Linked DNA regions of Homo sapiens: all the other regions are linked to region 2. The links are contacts of gene promoters, found by promoter capture Hi-C in human tissues and cell types (Jung and others, 2019). All regions are on one chromosome and are shown on one strand. Each heading gives the region's core, a stretch centred on a gene start or on the middle of the fragment in contact. The rest is flanking DNA. Distances are from core to core; before and after follow the strand shown. Region 1 overlaps SCAI (suppressor of cancer cell invasion). Region 2 holds the start of RABEPK (Rab9 effector protein with kelch motifs). Region 3 overlaps GAPVD1 (GTPase activating protein and VPS9 domains 1).

The links. Contacts are between HindIII fragments. The study calls those that stand out against the background at their distance.
Region 1: a contact is called between a fragment that was not itself captured here and the fragment with the promoter of RABEPK in region 2, in 2 of the 25 tissues and cell types used here (adrenal gland and dorsolateral prefrontal cortex).
Region 3: a fragment that was not itself captured here is called in contact with the fragment with the promoter of RABEPK in region 2 in 1 of the 25 tissues and cell types used here (IMR-90 fibroblasts).

What each region holds. Positions count from the first base shown.
Region 1 is chr9:125,056,821-125,059,520 of GRCh38, reverse strand. All of the region lies in intron 2 of SCAI (suppressor of cancer cell invasion), which reads left to right. Among named protein-coding and RNA genes, the nearest start is that of SCAI, 85 kb to the left of the region's middle. The HindIII fragment of the contact is 7,319 bases long and covers 1-2,700 here.
Region 2 is chr9:125,199,273-125,202,061 of GRCh38, reverse strand. RABEPK (Rab9 effector protein with kelch motifs) reads right to left here and starts at 1,520. Exons shown (of 8, transcript NM_005833.4): 1 at 1,156-1,520. LOC105376271 (a long non-coding RNA gene) reads left to right here and starts at 1,666. Exons shown (of 2, transcript NR_135145.1): 1 at 1,666-1,836; 2 at 2,407-2,529. RefSeq lists a silencer at 1,593-1,642. The HindIII fragment of the contact is 10,811 bases long and covers 1-2,789 here.
Region 3 is chr9:125,329,559-125,332,288 of GRCh38, reverse strand. GAPVD1 (GTPase activating protein and VPS9 domains 1) reads right to left here. Exons shown (of 28, transcript NM_001282680.3): 13 at 2,071-2,211; 14 at 229-363. Among named protein-coding and RNA genes, the nearest start is that of GAPVD1, 69 kb to the right of the region's middle. The HindIII fragment of the contact is 9,933 bases long and covers 1-2,730 here.

The DNA of each region.
Region 1 (2,700 bases), core at 3-2,502, 140 kb after region 2:
ATTTTGTTACTGTATTTTACTGTGTTTGTATTTTGTTCACCAATTCATCATTGGTGGTTGAACATTTTTCTTATTAACATTGAAATTTACTCCTGTCTAGTCCTTAGACCCCATTCAGGCCTTACCAGTTGTCTCAATAACATCCTTTACAGCAGAAGGATCCAGGGGAGAATCAGGCATTATACCTCAGTTTTCCCTTGTCTTTGAAGGAAAGTACTTGACATTTTTGAAGATTACAGGTTGGTTATTTTGTAGAATGTCCCCCAACTTGGTTTTGTCTGTTTCCTCATGATTAGACTCAGGCTACAGAACTTTGACAGGAACAGTACTTCTCATCGCATGGGACTTTGATTTGTCTGATTACTAATGATGTTCACTTTGATCATTTGATCAAGGCAGTGTCTGCTGGATTTTACTGCTGTGAAATTACTTTTTCCCTTGGAAGTAATGTGTAGTTTATGGGGGAAGTATTCTGAAACTATCCCATTCACTACCACACTTTCCATTTATTCACTCATTTATTTATATCTATATTGATTCATGATTTCTTATTTTGTTCAGTAGGTTATAATCCATTGCTATTACTATTGGTATTGATGCTGAAATTACCCTGTTTGGCCAGTGGGATCTCCTTCAAGCTTGATCCTATGTCTTTTTGACATTCTTTAGCATTCCTTGAGCACTTTCTTGCTTACTACCACAAGATATTCCAGATTGATCCTGTACTTTTTCTACCCCTGTGCTGTAATTAGTGAATTACAATTCTCCAGAGATGTCTGGTTCCTTTTATTGGAGAATGGTATTAGGGGCCAAGTGTTAGGTGCTAGAAACGTTCATACCACTGGGGAGGGAAGATGATCACTGCTCCAAGGCGCTCTCAGTAGATAGAATTACAGAGCTAGGGAGTATGCATCTGTGTGTGCTTATGTAGACACACACACCATGCATGTATGTCCATGTCTTCAGAAATCCATGAGTTCACTCATACTTACAGTTTATTTTTTTTGAAACGCAGTCTCGTTCTGTCGCCCAGGCTGAAGTACAGTGGCATGATCTCAGCTCACCTCAACCTCCGCCTCCCGGGTTCACGTGATTCTCCTGCCTCAGCCTTCCTAGTAGCTGGGGACTGCAGGCACACCCCACCATGCTGGGCTAATTTTTGTATTTTTTGGTGGAGATGGGTTTCACCATGTTGCCCAGGCTGGTCTCAAACTCCTGACCTCAAATGATCCACCCACCTTGGCCTCCCAGAGTGCTGGGATTACAGGCATGAGCCACTGTACCTGGCCCAGTTTCAATCCACAGAGTTCATTCTAACTTCTTCCATTTCCATATTTGCATCTCCCTTCTCTGCCAAGTGAGAACTCTGGGTCCCATTGCCTTTAATAAATCTTTTTTAAAAAAGAATTTTTTTTTTTTAAAGAAATGGGGTCTCATTCTGTCACTCAGGCTGAAGTGCAGTGGAGGGATCATAGCTCTCTGCACCCTTGAACTGCTGGCCTCAGTCGACTCTCCTGCCTCAGCCTCCTGAGTATCTGAGGTAGCTGAGTAGGCACCTGCCACCACATCTGGCTAATTTTTACATTTTTTGTAGAGACAAGATCTCACTGTATTGCCCAGGCAGGTCTCAAACTCCTAGCCTCAAGTGATCCTCCTGCTTCTGCCTCCCAAAGTGCTGGGATTACAGGCGTGAGCCACTGCATCTGCCCTTAATAGATCTTATTTGATCCTTCCCTCTTTATATAGCAAATCTCCCATTGCTGCTTTGAACCCTTCTATGTGGAGGTGCTCAGGCTCCTACTTTCCCTGCCAGTCCTCCACCCTCATGGGTGCCCTCCTCCTCCTCCACACTCGGCCTTCAACATCCTGTGCAAGCTGGCTCTGCCTGCGAATGGCCTCCTCACGTAGCTTATATTCCGACAACCATGCAGGTACCCTGTGATGTGGATACCCACTTGGTGGCTATAAGAGTGAATTTTTCAGGAAGGGAAGAGAATTCTGATTTCCTAAGTTTTACTTTAATGGTTCTAGCTGTGGGATTATTTTGACATTCTTTGAGTCCTTTCAATTTTAGGTGTTACATTTTCTCTAATTCTGGGAAATTTAGTCATTATTTCTGCAAATATTTCTTCACTCTCATTTGTGTTTTTCTCTCCTCCTGTGTAAGCTATTGTGTGGCAGTTGATTTCCCTCATTTCTCTATCTTATCTCTTGCTTTTTCTTTTATATATTTAATCTCTTTCTACTGTCTTTTGGCAGAGTACCCCAAATCTGATATTTTAGCTTATTTATTTGTTCAACTGTATCCTTTCTGTTCTTCAGTCCATCTATTAAAATTCATTATTTCACCAATTGTATCACATTATTTCAGTGACTATATTTTGTCTGCCTATTTTTACATCCTACACCAGGACCAAATTTTCCTGTTGTTCCAGGAATTTCTGTCTGTGTGTAAACACAAATCAGTTTTTAAAATTTAGGTTTGTATTGTACATACTGTCTGACAACTTACTGTTGTTTTCTGTTTTTACATGGCAGCTTTATGAAATTTATTACAAGTGGAGATAGTTTCAATATAGTTTTAATATACGTCTGTGTGTGTACGTGTGTGTGTATGTATATGTGTGTGTGTGATTTTATATCCCTTTTATACTGAAGTGTACTCATACCATTGCCTCACCTTCTTAAACAGAGTTGTAA
Region 2 (2,789 bases), core at 271-2,770:
TTTTTGTATTTTTCGTAGGGATGGGGTTTCACTATGTTCGCCAGGCTGGTCTTGAACTTGGCTCGCCTCGGCCTCCCAAAGTGCTGGGATTACAGGCGTGAGCCACTGAGCCCGGCCATTTATTTATTTTTTAATTAAAAATAGAAACGGGGCTGGGAGCAGTGGCTCACGCCTGTAATCCCAGCACTTTGGGAGGCCGAGGCAGGCGGATCATGAGGTCAGATCGATACCATCCTGGCCAACATGGTGAAACCCTGTCTTTACTAAAAATACAAAAAAAATTAGCTGGGCGTTGTGGCCCACGCCTGTAGTCCCAGCTACTCAGGAGGCTGAGGCGTGAGAATTGCTTGAACCCAAGAGGCGGAGGTTGCAGTGAGCCGAAATTGCGCCACTTGCACTCCAGCCTGGCGACAGAGCAAGACTCCTCCTCAAAAAAAGAAAAAAAAATAGAAATGGAGGTTTCGCTTTGTTGTCCAGGCTGGTCTCGAACTCCTAGCCTCAGGCAATTCTTCCACCTCAGCCTCCTAAAAAGCTGGGATTACAGGTGTGAGCCACTGCTCTCCGCTCAAAGGACAAAATATTTAAAGAAGCTGAGAAATACTGAGCTCTGGGATAAATCTTGGCCTCAACATAGCATAGAAAGTAAGGCCTTCTGCTGTTGAGCTTTTTTCCCGTGAACTCACCTCCACAATCTCTTGCATTATTGGTTTTTTTGCTGTTCTTGTAATATGGCAGGCCTTTTCATAATTTTGCAGCCTGTTCTGCTTCCCCTATTTGGAATGTCGCTTCCCTTCTGGGAAATTTGCAAACTCCTAGTTAACCTTCAAAGCCCAGTTCAAAAGTCCCTTCCCTGGTGAAACCTTCCCTGATTTGCCCTTTTCTCTTCCACCCACATCCAAGTTACTTCCTTCTTCCACCCACTGGGCTCTGAAGGTATTAGCCATCACCATTGCAGGAATCATTTGGAATGTTTATCTATTTAAGGCTTCTAGACTAGATTCTAGATTAAATTCCACTAGACTAAGTTCCTAGAGGGCTGGGCCTGTCAGATCCATTCCGAGAACCTACCAATGGACCTGGCATGGAGTAGAAGTGGGGGAGTGGCTAGTGAATGAAGAAAGAAAATAGATTGAGAGATGAATGGATAAATCTCACCTGCGGCCTAGGCCACTGACAGCTGTCCCCAAAGTCCAGAGCTCAGTTAGGCTGGCTTCACGTGGGCGGGACCTCCCGCAGCAGCCGCCGCTACCAGCCCAGCAAATCTCATCCCCACGTGGCAGTTCTAGGGGATAGGAGACGGGGTCGGGAAAGAACAGGCTGATTCGGTCAAAGTGGCCGGGACGGAGCCAGGGAAGGCCCTTCCCCGTTCTTTGCACCCGGCTTGGGCCCACTCCCCTAAAAGATTCAGACTCCCTGCCCGAGACCGTGATAGACCCGGTATCCGGGGACCCTCGCCCCTACCCTCCAGCCCCGGACTGCAATACCTGCGGCGACTTAGGCCAGTCGCGAGCCGTGACTCCACCCCGGAGGGGCGGGGCTTAGGTCCGGGCCCTCCTCCCAGGACCCGGAAGAGCGTCCGGGCCAACCGCTCCCTCTTCCCTGCTCCGCCCCGAGGGCCCGGCGCTGACTTCCTGGGCTGGCGGTGGAGGGGTCCCCCAGACCGGGAGTGGACGCCAGGCTCTGCATTTCTCGGGAACCAAGTGGGGTGGGCCTTCCCTGGGTCCCTCCCTCCCGGACGGGATAAATAAGCCGGGGCTACTTGGAAACGATTTGCGCAATGCCGGGTTCGGGCGTCCGTTTGGGGAACTCAGATGCCTGCGGCAGCTGATCTACTCTGTAAGGGGCTAACAGGGCTGGGCGCCACCACACTCCAGCTTGGGCAACAGCGCAAAAACTCCCTCTCAAAAAAATAAATAAATAAAAGGGGGGGAGGGTATAACAGTTACATTTCCAGTTACAACGATTGTTTTTTTTTTTTTTTTTTGAGACGGAGTCTCGCTCTGTCGCCCAGGCGGGACTGCGGACTGCAGTGGCGCAATCTCGGCTCACTGCAAGCTCCGCTTCCCGGGTTCACGCCATTCTCCTGCCTCAGCCTCCCGAGTAGCTGGGACTACAGGCGCCCGCCACCGCGCCCGGCTAATTTTTTTTGTATTTTTAGTAGAGACGGGGTTTCACCTTGTTAGCCAGGATGGTCTCGATCTCCTGACCTCATGATCCACCCGCCTCGGCCTCCCAAAGTGCTGGGATTACAGGCGTGAGCCACCGCGCCCGGCCACAACGATTGTTAACAGTTTCTAAAGGGGAGAGTTGAGCATGCAATCCTCCTGCGCAGTCTTCGGGCCAGCTCAAGATTTGGTGCTTTAAACAGCTGATTCATTCCATAATTGCCATTTGTAATTATGGCAGGTGCTATGCTGAGCCAGACACCACCACGCTTTGCCTCCAGGAGCAAGTCTTAACTAGAGAGAGATCAAAGAAAAAGACAACTAGGGACGACTGCCAAGAGTGCAATAAATATAAAGTTCAGCCAGGAGAGTATCTGTTCTGAAGTTACTTTCCTCCAGGCCTCAGGGTTGTCTGTTTGTAACCATGGAGCTAATAAGATTTCTATCATAGGCTGGGCGCGGTGGCTCACGCCTATAAGTCCAGCACTTTGGGAGGCCGAGGCGGGCGGATCACGAGGTCAGGAGTTCGAGACCAGCCTGGCCTACATGGTGAACGCCCCCGCCCCCCCCCCCAACTAAAAACACAAAAATTAGCTAGGCGTGGTGGTGGGCGCCTGTAATCCC
Region 3 (2,730 bases), core at 90-2,589, 130 kb before region 2:
TAAGAACAGAAACAGTTGTAGAGAGACTGTTTGCCAATTACTTCAACAGGCTCCATAAGGCCACACATTAAGTTCTCAAAGATTTCAGGTGCAATGGAAATAAGTTTGTTTTCTGGAAATTACTCAGCTCTTAAATATAACATATCTTTTTGTATCAACTTTATAAATAGGAGGGGGTAGGGGGTGAACACCTTCAAATCCCTACTCCTTAAAACAAGACAGACATACCGGACACAACACTGAGGCCTGGTGTGCTGGGGCGGGAACTGACCTCCCTGACATCCGTATCATCAGATGTGCTACCCAGTCCAGAACAGCTCTCCAGTTCTTGCAGACGCTCCTCCTGCTTTAGGTCTGGGGCCTCTAAATAGAAGATAAGAGGTATGTTACATTTGTGATTCTCTTAGCACACCACAATTTCAGCTTTTGTGACCCAGATAAACAAAGCTACCAGGGCATGAATAAAATCAGTGCAAATACATGTGTAAGTCTGGACTAGTTAATGCTAGTTAGATTAAGTGTTAAGTCAAAGTTGTGATTTTCATCCCAATATAAGCCAGTTCACTGTGCACAGATGAAAACGTGGTTCTAGATCACTAATGTCACAGAGTATGCTATTGATTAACATGTGAACTGGACAAGAGAGTATGGAATAGCCTGGTATTAAATCAACCACTTCCTAAAAAGTAACTCCTATGAATACTCAACAGCTGGTAAGCTAATCCTATTGTCCCCAACTGGTCTTCAAACAAGGCTAGCATATCTGAATGCTTTAACATTATAAAACAGGCCAGCCGTGGTAGCTCACACCTGTAATCCCAGCACTTTGGGAGGTCGAGGCCGGCAGATCACCTGAGGTCAGGAGTTCGAGACCAGCATGCCCAACACGGTGAAATCCCATCTCTACTAAAAATACAAAAACTAGCTAGGCGTGGTGGCAGGTGCCTGTAATCCCAGCTACTTGGGAGGCTGAGGCAAAAGAATCACTTGAACCCAGGAGGCAGAGATTGCACTGAGCCGTGATTGCACCACTGCACTCCAGCCTGGGTGACAGAGTGAGACTCCATCTCAAAAAAAAAAAAAATTATAAAACACATATCAGGATCACTTAATAATTCTTGAACCAAGTAAATCAACAGAATGTAATGCAGATACACAGTTACTTATATTTACATTCTGGTAGTTGACATTTAGTTGAAAGCAAAGATGCGTCTTCATAATCAGAAAAAAATGCAATGCATATGAAAAGACAAAGTACAAAACACTTTATATACATTTATAATAACCTGCACAAAAAAAAAATCCTCAGGATTACAGAATCTCAATTTCAACGTATTTCAAAAACACATTAAGCATGTTTTAGAGAGTCAAGTTCTCCCCTGTGATAAATCTAAATGTGTTTACCAAGCAAGCACTCAGTTTGAACTGTGTTGCTACTCTTATCCTGTCATGAGTTTGTGGAAGATACTAAATTCAATGATTCACACGGACTCTGATAATCACAGAAAATTGCTTTCAAAATAACTCAACACAGAGTCTGAAAGCACCTGCCATCACAGTCTATGCTATCTAACAGAGCATTTTCCCTTAATGGACAGAAAATGCCCTAAACTAATTTTCCATTTGACATTCTTAGCAATGTGATCACCTCATCTTTGTCAAATGTATAACTGGCTGGGCATGATGGCTCATGCCTGTAATTCCAGCACTTCGGGAGGCCAAGGTGGGCAGATCACCTGAGGTCAGTAGTTCAAGACCAGCCTGGCCAACATGGTGAAACCCTGTTTCTCTAAAAATACAAAAATTACCCGGCATGGTGGGGCATGTCTGTAATCCCAGCTACTCAGGAGGCTGAGGCGAGAAGACTGCTTGAACCCAGGAGGCAGAGGTTGCAGTAAGTTGGGATCGCGCCACAGCACTCCAGCCTGGGTAAAAGAGCAAGACTCCATCTCCATTAAAAAAAAAAAAAAAGTGTATTTGACAAAATATACATAATACAGAGTTGGGATACCTTGCATTTAATTAAAACTTCTGTATAAATGAAAAAGCAAACAATGACAGCATACTAACCTGAGTCACTTGGCAATACCTCTACACTCCAAGCTTCACTTGTTGTCTCTGATATGGTAGAACCAGTGCAGGGGTCAAGAAGCACTGACCCTGAACCTGGGAGGCACAGCAAACTGCCTAACATGTTCTCTGCTGCAGCACCTGTATAACCAGTGGGAAGCAAAGGGTTAACAAAGATCCTGGAGGAAAGTGCAGTGATAGTGGAGAAAAGCCAAACACTAGCTAACAAAATCTCCTGGCTGGGCGCGGTGGCTCACACCTGTAATCCCAGCACTTTGGGAGGCTGAGGCAGGCAGATCACTTGAGGCCAGGAGTTCAACACCAGCCTGGCCAACATGGCGAAACCCCGTCTCTACTGAAAATACAAAAATTAGCCAGGTATGGTGGCGTGCACCGGTAGTCTCAGCTACTTGGGAAGCTGAGGCACAAGAACCCGGGAGGCAGAGGTTGCAGGGGGTGCAGAGACTGCAGTGAGCCGAGGTCATGCCATTGCCCTCCAACCTGGTCAATGTGAGTGAGACCCTGTCTCAAAAATAAAAATGGCCGTGTCATTTTGGGACTTTGTCTCAAAAAAAAAAAAAAAACCACCAAATTCCTCTCTACCTACAAGAAAGAGGCCAAAGTAAGAATAACTTCAATCAAGCACACCACTAAAAACAC